Regions from separate parts of the Homo sapiens genome. Here regions 1 and 3 are each linked to region 2. Evidence: promoter capture Hi-C in 16 types of primary human blood cells and fetal thymus (Javierre and others, 2016). All regions are on one chromosome and are shown on one strand. Each heading gives the region's core, a stretch centred on a gene start or on the middle of the fragment in contact. The rest is flanking DNA. Distances are from core to core; before and after follow the strand shown.

Region 1 (4,598 bases), core at 974-3,473, 180 kb before region 2:
TCCTCCCAACTCAGCTTGACAGAAGCTCCATTCCGGGCAACTGTGACCAAGTAGAGAGGCCTCCCTGGCCTCTCAGCTACCAGTCAAAAAATATGATATCTCACCAGGAGGGACAGGTCATCAGCACATCTCTCCCCTTCAACTCTGTGTAAAAGAGGCTAAATTCCTGGTAAGTGTGCCTGAGAGGTCGAAAGCTCACTTCACGCAGCCCCGACACAGGCTGGAGAGTAGGCCCAATCACCCTCACCCCAGCCCAAGTGTAGGGTAGAGAGTTCCATGCTGGAAAAGGCAAGCTGGAAGAGGCAACCAGAGGGTACCCATGCTGCCCAGCTCCCAGAGTAGTGAGATTTTGCCCAGAGGGAGACGCAGTCCATGGGAACAGAAGAGTTCTGAAGCTCTCCATGAAGAAATTGGTTTTATTTGGAAAAAAGGCATGTGGGGATATTCAAGCTTAAGAGCTCTTGCCAAAACAAAGGAGATTTTGGTAGTAAGCCAATAAAAGGAGGCAGGTAGCTCCTGTCACTTAAGTGCAAAAAGCTAACCCATAGGCCAGCTAGGTCACCAGAGAGAGAACCAGGGAAACAGACAGCCAGGAAGTGCTAAGAAGGATCAGAAGAAACCTCAAAGTCTAGTCTCAAAAAGTGTCTCCACTTGAACTTAATTAGATCAGATGGTGGAGCAATTTATGTCCCCATGAAATTATCAAAAATATTAGAGCCAATCAGCTGGAAATTAGGAGAGCCTAACACCTGGATGTGATACCAAACGGGGCTTAAAGGAGAGATCAGGGAGTGAGACAGTCAAAGACAGCTCTGCTAAGACCACTGTCATTCCAGAGTGACTGCATGCCTGACCAAGGCTGTGCCCTCTGAAGAGCGATACCAGAGATTGTACTCTGTGAGCGAAATAGACTTCACTAAAATAGTCAAATCGAGTTACTAAACAAACACATAAGCAAACAACAAAAACATGTCCCAGAGAGTGGGGAATGAAATCAGTATCACAGTTGTGAAATCTAAAATTACCTAAAATGTCTTGTTCTCAACAACAAAAAACAATATGGCACACAAAGAAACAGCAATGTGTAACTTACACAAATAAGAAACAACAGAAATTGTCAGTAAGAGGCAAAATGTCAGACTTAATAAAGTCTTCAAAGTAGCCATTATAAATATGTGCAAAGAACAAAAGGAAACCATGCTTAAAGAAGTAAAGGAAGCTATGATGACAATGTCTCACCACATAGAGAACATCCATAAAGATGCTGAAATTGTAAACAAAAAGAAAGAAGAAGAACCAAATGAACATTCTAGAGTTTAAAAGTAAAATAACTGAAATTTAAAATTTCATTAGAGGGGCTCAACAGCTGATCTGAACTGGCAGAAGAAAGAATCTGTAAACTTAAAATACATCAATAGAGATTATGCAATATAAAAAGGAGAAAAAAGAATAAAGAAAAACGAATACAGCCTCAGAGAAATATGGAAAATCTTTAAGCAAAAGAACATATACATAATGGAAGTACTAAAAAGAGAGGAGAGAGAGAATGGAGCAGAAAAAATATGCAAAGAAATAATGACTAAAATTCCCAAATTTGAGAAAAACATCAACCCACACATACAAGAAGCTCAATGAATTTCAAGTAGGATAAATGCAAAGAGGTCCACACTCAAACAAATTATAATAAAAATCCTGAAAGTCAAGGAGAAAACTGAAAGCAGGAAGAGAAGAACAACTCGTCATGGGCTAGAGAACCTAGATAATATTAACAGCTGATTTCTCATCAGAATCTTGGAGGCCAGAAGGCAGTGGGATGACATACTCAAAGTACTGAAAGAAACAGAACTGCCAACCAAGAATTCTGTATTCATCCAAACTATCTTTCAAAATGGAAGGTGGAATGAAAACATTCCCAGACAAGAACTAAGAGAATCCTTTCTTAAAAATCCACCTTACAATAAGCACTCAGTGAAGACCTTCAGGCTGAAAGCAAGTAAACCCAGACTTAAATTTAAATTCACATATTAAAACAAAGAGCACCAATAAAGGTAAATATGCAATTATGAAAGACAGTATAAATACATGCTTCTTCTTCTCTTAACTGATATAAAAGCAATTGGCCAAAGCAAAATTTTATAATTTCATTGTTGGACCTATACACACATAAATTTAATATATTTGAAAACCACAGCATGAAGGAGAAAGGTGGGAGCAAAGGTCTGTTGGAATAAGAATATAATACCAGATAGTAACACAAATTCACAGGAAAAAATGAAGGGAAATAGAAATGGTAAATAAGAAAGTTAATATAACAAACACTATAAATATATTTTTCCTTTCCTTTCTTCTCTCAGTTGTATTAATGGACATAAAATTAAATAACAATTATAGCATGTATTATTGTGTATATGGAGTTCATATTTATAATAATAATAACAAAAAGGGAAGAGGAAACAGTTATACAGGAGTCACATTTTTATATATAACTAGAATTAAGTTAGCATAAAAAATGAAGTCCATTCTGATAAGATATATATGGAAAGTTTTAGAGTAACCACTAAAAGACACCCCAAAATATAGTGAAATATTATAGAGAAAATTTATAACAAAAACGTTTAAAATAATAAAAAAATAAAATATAGTGAAAAAATCATTAAAGCACTTCTGATTTCAGCTCTGACATCGAAAGAGCTTGGAAGTCATCACACTATAGTCATAATTAAAAAAATACTGAACAAACTGAAAATCAATGACTTTTGTTAGATTTACTGAGAATTGAGATCACAGAAAAAATCACCACCTCAAAATCTGGAGAAACAGTGAATACAGAGAATTACAGCTGAGATTAGCTTCCCTAAAGCAGAAGCCACTGGACCCAGTAACTGGCAGGAACACTTGCATAGTGATTTTAATGAATTCCTGGAGTCTGAATGTGGACCCCAACTTGAGATTTAAAAGCTCCTGGAGAACCATCTTGAGGCGGGGCAATGCTTTTGTGGGTTTGGGATCCAAAAACCCAAAAATGTTCCATAGTGAAGATCAGAGAAAAATCCTCTCATGTTTTGGGATAGGAGTGGGGGCGGGGTGGAGCATCCATTTTGAAATAATCCCAGAACCTTTTCCAAAACAAAGGCCTGTCTTCCAAGGGAAACTATGTTGCCAAGTCTTATCTGACCTGAGGAAGGTACAATAGGCCAGCTTCAGCCCTCTCTCATCTTCCTGCCATATGTGAGAGGACTAAAAAAGGCTAAGAATTGCTTCTGGAGGTCAATTTCCAGGGACTCAGGTCTACTAAAAAATTGAGACTTGTTCATAACATTATAGAATGTGTCCCCTTCCCCAACACCTTATCACCACATTGACAGGGCCCCAATATATAATAACAGTGGATTACAGGGAGGGATCTGCAAGACACAGACTCTATTTAAGAAGGAGTTCTTAAGAAACCCAAAGATAGGCAGGGCGCGGTGGCTCAGGCCTGCAATCTCAGCAGGATTGGGAGGCTGTGGCAGGTGGATCACTTGAGGTCAGGAGTTTGAGACCAGCCTGGCCAACTTCATGAAACCCTGTCTAAACTAAAAATACAAAAAAATTAGCCAGGCGTGGTGGCACATGCCTGTAATCCCAGCTACTCAGGGGGCTGAGGCATGAACATTGCTTGAACCTGTGAGGCAAAGGTTGCAGTGAGCTGAGATCGCGCCACTGCACTCCAGCCTGGGAGACAGTGAGACAAAAAAAAAGAGGAAAGAAAGGAAAGAAAGAAAGCCAAAGTTAATAAGAGAGAAGGAAAGGAAACAAAAAAAATCTAAAGCCCCTCATACTTACAGCTACAGCAAACATTAAACACAGGCAAGATCCTAGTCAGATTAACAGAAAACCTCACAGTAAACACCTAGTTACCTCAGTTCCTATTACTTAATTTATCATGTCTGCCTTCCAACAAAACATTACAAGGCATGCTGAAAGGCAAGAAAAAAACAGTCTGAGGAGACAAAGCAAGCTTTAGAATCAGACTCAGATATGACACAAATTTTGGAATTATTAGGGAATTCAAAATAACTATGGTTAATATGTTAAAGGTTCTAACAGATAAAGATAGACAACATGTAATAAAAGATGGGTAATGTAAGCAGAGTGATAGAAACACTAAGAAATGATCAAAAGAAAATGCCTGAAATAAAAAACACTGTGACAGAAATGAAGAATGCCTTTGATAGTCTAACAAATAGGCTAAACATAGCTGAGGAAACAGTGAGCTTCAAGATATGTCAATAGAAATTTCCTAAACTTAAATGTAAAGAAAAAAATTTTAAATGGAAGAGAATACACAAAAACTGTGGAACAAGTACAAAAGGTGTAACATGCATAATGGGAATATAGACAGAAAAGAAAGAGAAAAGAGAAGAAATATTTAAAATGTTGACCCTATTAGGCCAAGAATTTTGCAAAATTATTGACAGACCCCAAACTGCTGATCCAGGTATCTCAGAGAACACCAAGCAGGATATATAGCAAAACATATCTACACCTAGCCATTTCATATTCAAGCTGCAGAAAGGCAAAAGCAACGAGAAAATCTTGAAAGAAGCCAGACAGGG
Region 2 (4,152 bases), core at 1,037-3,536:
AAAATGTATCATGTTGGCTGGGCGCAGTGGCTCGCAGTGTCTCACACCTGTAATCCCAGTACTTTGGGAGGCGGAGGCAGCTGGATCACCTGAAGTCAGGAGTTTGAGACCAGCCTGGCCAACATGGTGAAACCCTGTCTCTACTAAAAATACAAAGTTAGCCGGGCGTGGTCGCGCATGCCTGTAATCCCAGCTACTGGGGGGGGGGGGGGGGGCTGAGGCAGAAAAATCGCTTAGAACTCGGGAGACAGGCTGCAGTGGGCACTGCACCATTGCACTCCAGGCTAGGCAACGGAGGGAGACTATCAAAAAAAAAAAAAAAAAAGTACCATGTAATGCCATAATTATTCTGAACTGAGAGAATGTTACGAGCATAAGATATAACTCACTACTAGATTTGGTTCTGCAATTACAGAATACTCTTTGGAACAGGATCACAAACAGGATGAGTGGATCCCAGACAGGTATATACTGAAAAACAACGAAAACTCAAAAGCTGTCCTAGACCAGACTTGGACAACTACATGTTATTTTATGCACTAGTAACAGGTTATCATCCATCGTGTAGACAATCTCACCTTTCCATTCATGTCTCTGGCTGCATCCTTAGCGTCTGCTGGGCTTTCAAAGGTGACAAAAGCAAATCCTCTTGATTTGTTGGTTTCACGGTCTTTCATCAAGAGTACTAAAAAGTAGTTTTCAGAAAAATAAAGTGTTACCCTAGGTCAAATGAAATAACCAAAGTAAATGTGTAAACAGAAAGCTCAGAACTTCTTAGAGGACAAAAATACATTATCATGTCAGACGATCAATGCAATCAAATTCATCATAGCTTATATTTTAATTATAATAGCCCAGCCTGTACTGCCAGACAACTCACCTTCCACTATTCGTCCATATTTGCCAAATACTGCTTCAAGAGCTTTCTCATTTGTTTCCGTATTAAGCCCACCAATGAAGAGCTTTCCTGGGCGATCTGCTTCAACCATGTTTTTTTTTTTTTGGGCCGGTGAGTCTGTTGAAAAGGAATAGTATTACCTCACTGCAAAAAGTTCCTCAAGTTTATTGGACACTTTTACTTTCGCACATTTCTCATATTTTCCACTAAAACCATTGTTCCTTAATAACTAAAGAAAACGATAACGAGCTAAGCCTCAGCCACAGTAGGAAGCAATTTGAACTAAGTAGTTTAGTAACACTGCAATTTACATAAAACTGGTTAAAAGGGCCAACTTAACTTTTACCACTACCCTTGATCACCCTTAGCTGTTCTTAAGCAACAGCTGCTTAACATTTGAAAAAGCAACTTTTAGTTCCAGTCCTCTTGCCTTTGAAAGATTCAATTACTCATCACACCCTTCCTAACGATGGTTTTAAAAGACTCCCAAGGTCACAGGCTAGACACAGGACCTTAACACCAAGCCCTCTTCCAACGACTCCTCTTTTCCTCATTAGGATTCCCTACTAAATCCAAGGAGAAATGTGAAGTTTAAGCCAAGTTATGCCGCCCCTCTTCTTCACCGGCCCCCGCCCTACCGAAAATTCTACTATCCGGCCAAAAAGATAAAAACAAATCGTCAACATCGTTTGCTATTAAGTAACGGAACGCGGACGCACACACTAACACTCGACACTCCGTGACTGCAGCGGAACCTAATTAAAACTCGTCATTAAAAACCGCGTGTAAAAGACAAAATGGCGACACTTGGATTCAACCCAGAACCACCGACACTGGTCAGGGGACTAACTTTTACCACCAACATTGGCTGGGAACATTCAGAGGGCTTCTTCTCCGGGGCCGCCAATGAATACGAAGCCCGCAGCCCGCATGGAAGTCCACATGCCCATCATTAGCGCCAGCGCCATACCAATGCAGGTATCGCCGTGGTGCGGTCGCTCCTCGCCCCGCTCCAGCCTACAAAGCCCCGACCTCCGCTACCAACTCCCGCAGATGGCAGCCAAACTTTCTCGAGAAGCATACAACCAAACGGGCCCCCTCATTTGTTTTCCCTCGACCCCCTCAGCTTTATTTAAATAGGTCGGAACCTTTGGGTTCTTAAAATGGCGCCCGCCACCCCCATCTCCAGGGAGATATAATCCCCAGTCCTAACACGGGGAGAGTGTCACGAAAAACGGACTGAGGAAAGGAGACACGTACCGGAGGGGTGACAATGGGTTCAAGCTCCAACGAGCTCGGCGATAGGGGCTTCCTAGCAGCTCAGCACCAGTGGCGGCTGCCGGGTGCGAGGACCGAACCGCGAAGCCGCTAGCACTACTGCGCAACGAGGGCGAACAAAGGAGACAGCAAACTTTATACTGCCCGGGAACGAGGCTGAAGGACCCGGATGGAAACGGAGCTTAGAATTTGAAACGCAAAGGGAGGGGGGAAGTAGTTCCCAGTCTCCCCATTGGCTGGCTCCTCTGTCATTCACCCTTCTCTCCTCCCTTTTTCCCGGGCCCTCGGTGTTGGGTCGACAGACCTTTCTAACCGTTTTCTCTACCCCCACCCGTTCTTTACAAACGCGCTTTTTTTGCTTTACGCTAAAATGGTGCACAGGCTTCCTTTAATAAAGAACTGAAGTTTATTGAGCGTCCTAGTGGGCCGGGCACGGTGCAAAACTTTACTTTTACTTTTCCATTAACTCTTCTAATTGTCAAAATGTGATGAGGGTAGATACTCCTACTATACCAATTTTGCAGAAACGGAAAACAAAGAAGTTTTGGCAATATAATATATTTTCAAAAATTGTCTTTAACAAGTGTTTTTAGTGAGTGTGGGAATTTCTGATAAATACATGTAAATTTCAGATGAGTAAAAAACGTACAAAACAGCATGCAGATAGTACATTCATATAGAACAATTACTGAGCACCTTGTAAATGGTGGGCTCTGGGCTAGGCCAGGAAAATACAACTCCAGGGAAAAGACAAGAGTCAGGCCTGTGGGTAAGGATGCCGGATTTAATAAATGAAAATACCAGGCCGGGTGCAGTGGCTCACGCCTGTAATCCCAGCACTTTGGGAGGCCAAGGTCGGTGGATCACGAAGTCAGGAGATGGAGACCATCCTGGCTAACACGGTGAAACCCCGTCTCTTTTTAAAAATACAAAAAATTACCCAGGCGTGGTGGCACGCGCCTGTAGTCCCAGCTACTCGGGAGGCTGAGGCAGGAGAATCCGGGAGGCGGAGGTTGCAGTGAGCCAAGACTGCGCCACCGCACTCCAGCCTGGGCAGGCGACAGAGCGAGACTCCGTCTCAAAATAAAAAAGAAAATGCGGGACGCTAATTTATTCTGCGAAGCTGTTAAAAAATTTTAAATAAAAATATGGGACGCGGCCGGGGCGCGGTGGCTCATGCCTGTAATCCTAGCACTTTGGGAGGCCGAGGCGGGCAGATTGCCTGAGCTCAGGGGTTTGAGACCAGCCTGGGCAACATGGTGAAACCCCGTCTCTACTAAAATAAAAATAAAAAATAAAAAAATTAGCCGGGCGTGGCGGCGTGTGCCTGTAGTCCCAGCTACTCGGGAGGCTGAGGCAGGAGAATTGCTTGAACCCAGGAGGCGGCGGTTGCAGTGAGCCAAGATCATACCACTGCACTCCAGCCTGGCAACAGAGCGAGACTTCGTCTAAAAAAAAAAAAAGGGACGCCCAGTTAAGTTTAAATTTCAGATAACGAATACTTTTTTTAGTATAGTATGTCCCAAATCTCATATTTTAAAAATTCGCTGTTTATCGGAAATTCAAATTTAACTGAGCATTCTATATTTCATCTGCCCATCCTACTTGTTGAGGGGGGAAACCAAAAAATTTTTTAATTTTTTTCTTAAAGAAATTGAATACAATTAACAAAAGAATGGCATGTTGTGATTAATGCCAGGGAGGAAATAAACTAGTTGCTTTGATGGACAATATTAGGGAGAACAAATTTGATTAAAACATCAGGGAAGGTCTATGTGAAGAGGTGACTTTGGAGATCAGAGCTGAAGGAAGAAAAGAAACTAGCTATGGGAACAGCTGAGGGAAAAACCTTCAGGAAAAGAAGAGAATAGTAAACACAAAGTAGAGAGGAAGAGCTTGGCATATATCAAGGGACAGAAAGAGGGCCAGGTGACAAGAATATGAGGGGCATGAAATGAGGGAGCCAAGATTGGCAG
Region 3 (4,099 bases), core at 677-3,176, 200 kb before region 2:
TTGTGTTTTTAGTAGAGACAGGGTTTTCCCATATTGCCCAGGCTGGTCTTGAACTCCTGGCCTCAAGGGATCTGCCTGCTTTGGCCTCCCAAAGTGCTGGATTACAGGCGTGAGCCATCATGCCCAGTAGAATGCTTCTTTTATGTCAGCCTTAGAGATGCATTACTTTGAAAGAATATGTCAAGGCACCTAAGAAATCCCCTCCCACATTCAAATGATTGGTCACTGGATGTCCAAAATGGAGTACTATGGAGTATTCATTTCTTATGCAGGTGCAAAAACTTCACAAAAGGTATTCTGAATGTCTATAATAATGGGAGACAAAAGACATAATCGAAGTGACCTGTCTTTTTAAAAGCATAAAGATGAATCAGAAAATATTATCTTGCTTTCAGTTTGTAACCTGAAAGTTGTTTGGGGAAATACCCTAACCTAATAACTCCCTGATCAACTTTATACATTTTGGACAACCTCTGCTAAGCAGCTACCTTTCCAGATTTTCAGAGCAACTTTGAAACTTGAGTTTGGTGAAGCATTGTTCGTTTAAATATGCAGCTGATCAAAGATAGTATTTTGACTTCCTTTCCAAATCTGCCTATAAGAAGAGATTAGCATCAGTTCACAGACACAGGAACTCTCTAGGCCCTTTAATTCCTAACTAGTGTTGGTGAAGGTATCTGTGTACTTCAAAGGAGAACAACTTTAAAAAAAAATTTTCACTTCTATCACCTCCAACTCTTTTACTCTTGCATCTCTCTTTCTGGGTGAAAAACAACAGTGGGTAAACAAACCGCTTGGTAGCTAAAACCACCTTATCTGAAAGATGCAGTCCTGCACCACTCCTCTGCACCAAGTCACCTGCTTTCCACACCCTGCAACCCATCCGGGTTGCTTTTCTCTTTTTCTAAAAGACACTAAACAGTAAGGAAGAAACGTCACTCACTAGAGAAAGTAGTTTGGGGGAACCTACTTGAGCCATGGCCTTGTTGAAAATTTGCGCTGGTGCAGTAGGCTTCGATCACTTTAAGGATTTGAGCATCCTCTTCCAGAGCAGCTGTACCTGTGAAATTTAATTCATCATGACTTTTCATAGATATATGCTTTTGGACCCTCAAAATGATGCAGCACACTCCACTGCCTGGGACTGGCTTCTCTGACCAGTAGAGTTTGTGAAAGGCAGGAGAAAGAGCTGTCCAACGCTGGTGATGGAGAAGAGTGACAGCATCCTCATGGAGCTTTGGAGTCAGCCTCAGTGAGCTCAGCTTAGTGGAGGGCCTACTCCTGAAGCCCAGAGCTCTACACTGGGACCGGGGTGGGGGGGGCGGTGTTTTGTCAGTGGTCTCAGTGAGGCCAAAATCACAGCACTGAGCTTGTTGCTAGCTTAGCTCCCATCAATATACCCCAGCCTTCCTCTCCTTTAAATTTCAAGGCTCACCTTTAGGAAGCTTTCCCTCATTAACCCCACTCAATTTTCTTTTCTTTTCTTTTCTTTTTTTTGAGACGGAGTCTTACACTCTTGCCCAGGCTGGAGTGCAGTGGCGCGATCTCGGCTCACTGCAAGCTCCGCCTCCCGGGTTCACGCCATTCTCCTGCCTCAGCCTCCCGAGTTGTTGGGACTACAGGCACCCGCCACCACACCCGGCTAATTTTTTTTGTATTTTTTTTAGTAGAGACGAGGTTTCACCATGTTAGCCAGGATGGTCTCGATCTCCTGACCTTGTGATCTGCCCGCCTCAGCCTCCCAAAGTGCTGGGATTACAGGCATGAGCCACCGTGCCCGGCCAACCCCACCCAATTTTCTAACCAGTCAGCATAGTCACTCATTTTCCCTTCTCCCTTCTCCTCTACTCCAAACTCATTCTTGCAATGGCTGGATGGCAGCACCCTGTGAACACGCCAGTGTGCATAACCAGGTGTGGGGTGGGGGGTGGGGCATGCCAAAGCTGAAGTGGAGCAAATATTTATCCAAACTATATTCCCAGCTGATACACACAATTCTGTCACCTCTTTGTGAGACATCACTTACTCCTTCACATGTGTCCCAAAGTACCTTGTGTCCCAAAGTACCTTGTTCACAGCCTTATAGCCAAATATGTCCATATCGACTGGCTGACTGACTTTGCAGTCTGTCTCCAAATGAAACTATGTTTCTAGATGTGGGCAGGCTGATTCCCTGAGTAACTGAGAGCATCACTGAGCATGGGACTTCTGGAAGGACTTCAGCCTTCGGGTCTATTTAGTCTATCTCCCTGCAGAAAAATATCTCAAGTATCAGAAACTAAGAGGGAAAAAATGTATCCATAGGAAATGGGTCCCTTTAGAGGTTCTAAACCAGGTGAGGCAAAATACTCAACACAAAAATGATACAGATGACATCTGCCTAAGATGACATGAAGTGCAGCCGTAAGAAGCTTATTCAAATGTTTAAGAAGTGACCAAAGCTTTCCATGCATTCTTCTTTATATGTAAAAGACGATGTCAAGAAAAAATTGCTCCAATCATCTGCTTTCAAATAAATCCTCACATAAAAGAAGATTCTCATGTTAATTTATCCATAAACAACTTTCAGAAAGTACAAAACACATACTTTTCCTAATCACATATTCCTCCTCCGATGGTTTTCTCTCAGTCTTCCTTTTATGAAGAAATTTCTTCATCGTTTTAGGGCTTTTACTAGACTCCTGTGAGGACAGAGGTTTCTTAATGAATTAAAATTCTCCCTCAAAAACAAAAGTAAAAGCATGAATGAAACTAAGTAGAATTCCTCTCTCTTATTTTGACAGTCTCAGTTAGGAGTACATCAATGTTTAATTCTATGCACAATTAAAATGGTTCCAATAAACTCTAAAAGGTTAAATAAAACAGAGGCAATGACATTATCCTCTCAACTTGCACAGAGGTGGGACTAAGAGTGGAGTGTGCCTACTGAAGATGTGGCAGATTCTCCAGGAGGCCAAATGGCTTTAGGGAACCATCTGCAGAGAAAGTAAGGGATGTCAACCCTAAAAACGTAACAGTATTCCTAATTTGGTTTACGTTCCCCACTGATACAGTTTTAGGGGAACTAAATAACCACTGTAACCACTAATGTAGTAATGATCACTTTTCAAAGAGCTTCAAAGCTATTTAAATAATTCTGCCTTAGAAACAGTCCCACAAATAAGAATATAATTTCCATTTGTGAGACAGAAAAATTAAGGCAGAGAGACTAAGCCATTTTTCCGCAGTCAAAGAGAAGAACCAAATGAAGGATTTCCTAAAAAATAATTTTGGGTTAGAAGTAACACACCCACAGCCAAACTTAACTATCCATATATAAAGCCATGTATTTAACTAGTAGACAAAATAAATGTATTGAATTTGTTTTTGCCATATGAGTAACCAGCAGGTCAAAAAAATACTCATTGTCAATATCCTTAATCCTTAATCCAATAATCTGTAAACAGATTACAACCTTAGACTTAGGAAAAAACTCTCATGATCACCTAATCCCAATTTTCCAAGAAATGTGTATACATGGAGCATGGATATTAATTATTAATAGTACCTTAAAAATATAGGAAACAAATCATTTAATTTATTTCACTTAGCCACAGTACTTACACTTGAAAACAAGACAGATATGAAAAACTCTCACATGACAAAAATAACAGGAAAAAACAGAATTTAAAAAAAAACACAGGAAAATGGGCATTTTAGGGCATTATGACATTTTTATATGTATTTCACACAAGCCTGCTTTTTGAACAAAGTACTTACATGTCAAAATTGCATCTTCATATTTTAGCCACCAATTATAACAAGGGACAAAACAAGCATAAGGGAAAGCTTCATTCATCAAAGGTTACAGTACAGCATTATGATGTCACTGTAAGCCAAAGATATTGTACTACCCTTACCTTTAAGATATAAGACATCCTCTAAAATGAATATGTAAAGAAAGAGAAGATGAGCGTGAGAGGTCGATGGTTATAATGACCAAATCCACTTATCAATAATTCTAAAACAACATTTGAAATGTTAGTGTTATCATAAATTACACAGAGGGAATATAATCACATTTCCCACATTAGTTTCAGATGCAATATTATCATGCAAA

What was found. Contacts are between HindIII fragments. The CHiCAGO score rates a contact against its expected background, and 5 or more counts as called.
Region 1: a fragment that was not itself captured here is called in contact with the fragment with the promoter of RBMX in region 2 in 1 of 17 cell types (naive B cells); the score reaches 6.9 in naive B cells.
Region 3: a contact is called between a fragment that was not itself captured here and the fragment with the promoter of RBMX in region 2, in 1 of 17 cell types (monocytes). The highest score is 5.6, in monocytes.

What each region holds. Positions count from the first base shown.
Region 1 is chrX:136,696,786-136,701,383 of GRCh38, forward strand. The region is part of intron 9 of ARHGEF6 (Rac/Cdc42 guanine nucleotide exchange factor 6); the gene reads right to left. Among named protein-coding and RNA genes, the nearest start is that of CD40LG, 51 kb to the left of the region's middle. The HindIII fragment of the contact is 3,550 bases long and covers 449-3,998 here.
Region 2 is chrX:136,878,439-136,882,590 of GRCh38, forward strand. RBMX (RNA binding motif protein X-linked) reads right to left here and starts at 2,287. Exons shown (of 9, transcript NM_002139.4): 1 at 2,159-2,287; 2 at 881-1,015; 3 at 579-685. The coding sequence starts at 989. SNORD61 (small nucleolar RNA, C/D box 61) reads right to left here and starts at 833; the gene lies at 761-833. RefSeq lists enhancers at 1,212-1,811, 1,613-1,672, 1,683-2,142, 1,812-2,410. The HindIII fragment of the contact is 13,799 bases long and covers 1-4,152 here.
Region 3 is chrX:136,674,037-136,678,135 of GRCh38, forward strand. It overlaps ARHGEF6 (Rac/Cdc42 guanine nucleotide exchange factor 6), which reads right to left. Exons shown (of 22, transcript NM_004840.3): 17 at 3,900-3,920; 18 at 2,588-2,681; 19 at 971-1,060. Among named protein-coding and RNA genes, the nearest start is that of CD40LG, 28 kb to the left of the region's middle. RefSeq lists an enhancer at 111-170. The HindIII fragment of the contact is 966 bases long and covers 1,444-2,409 here.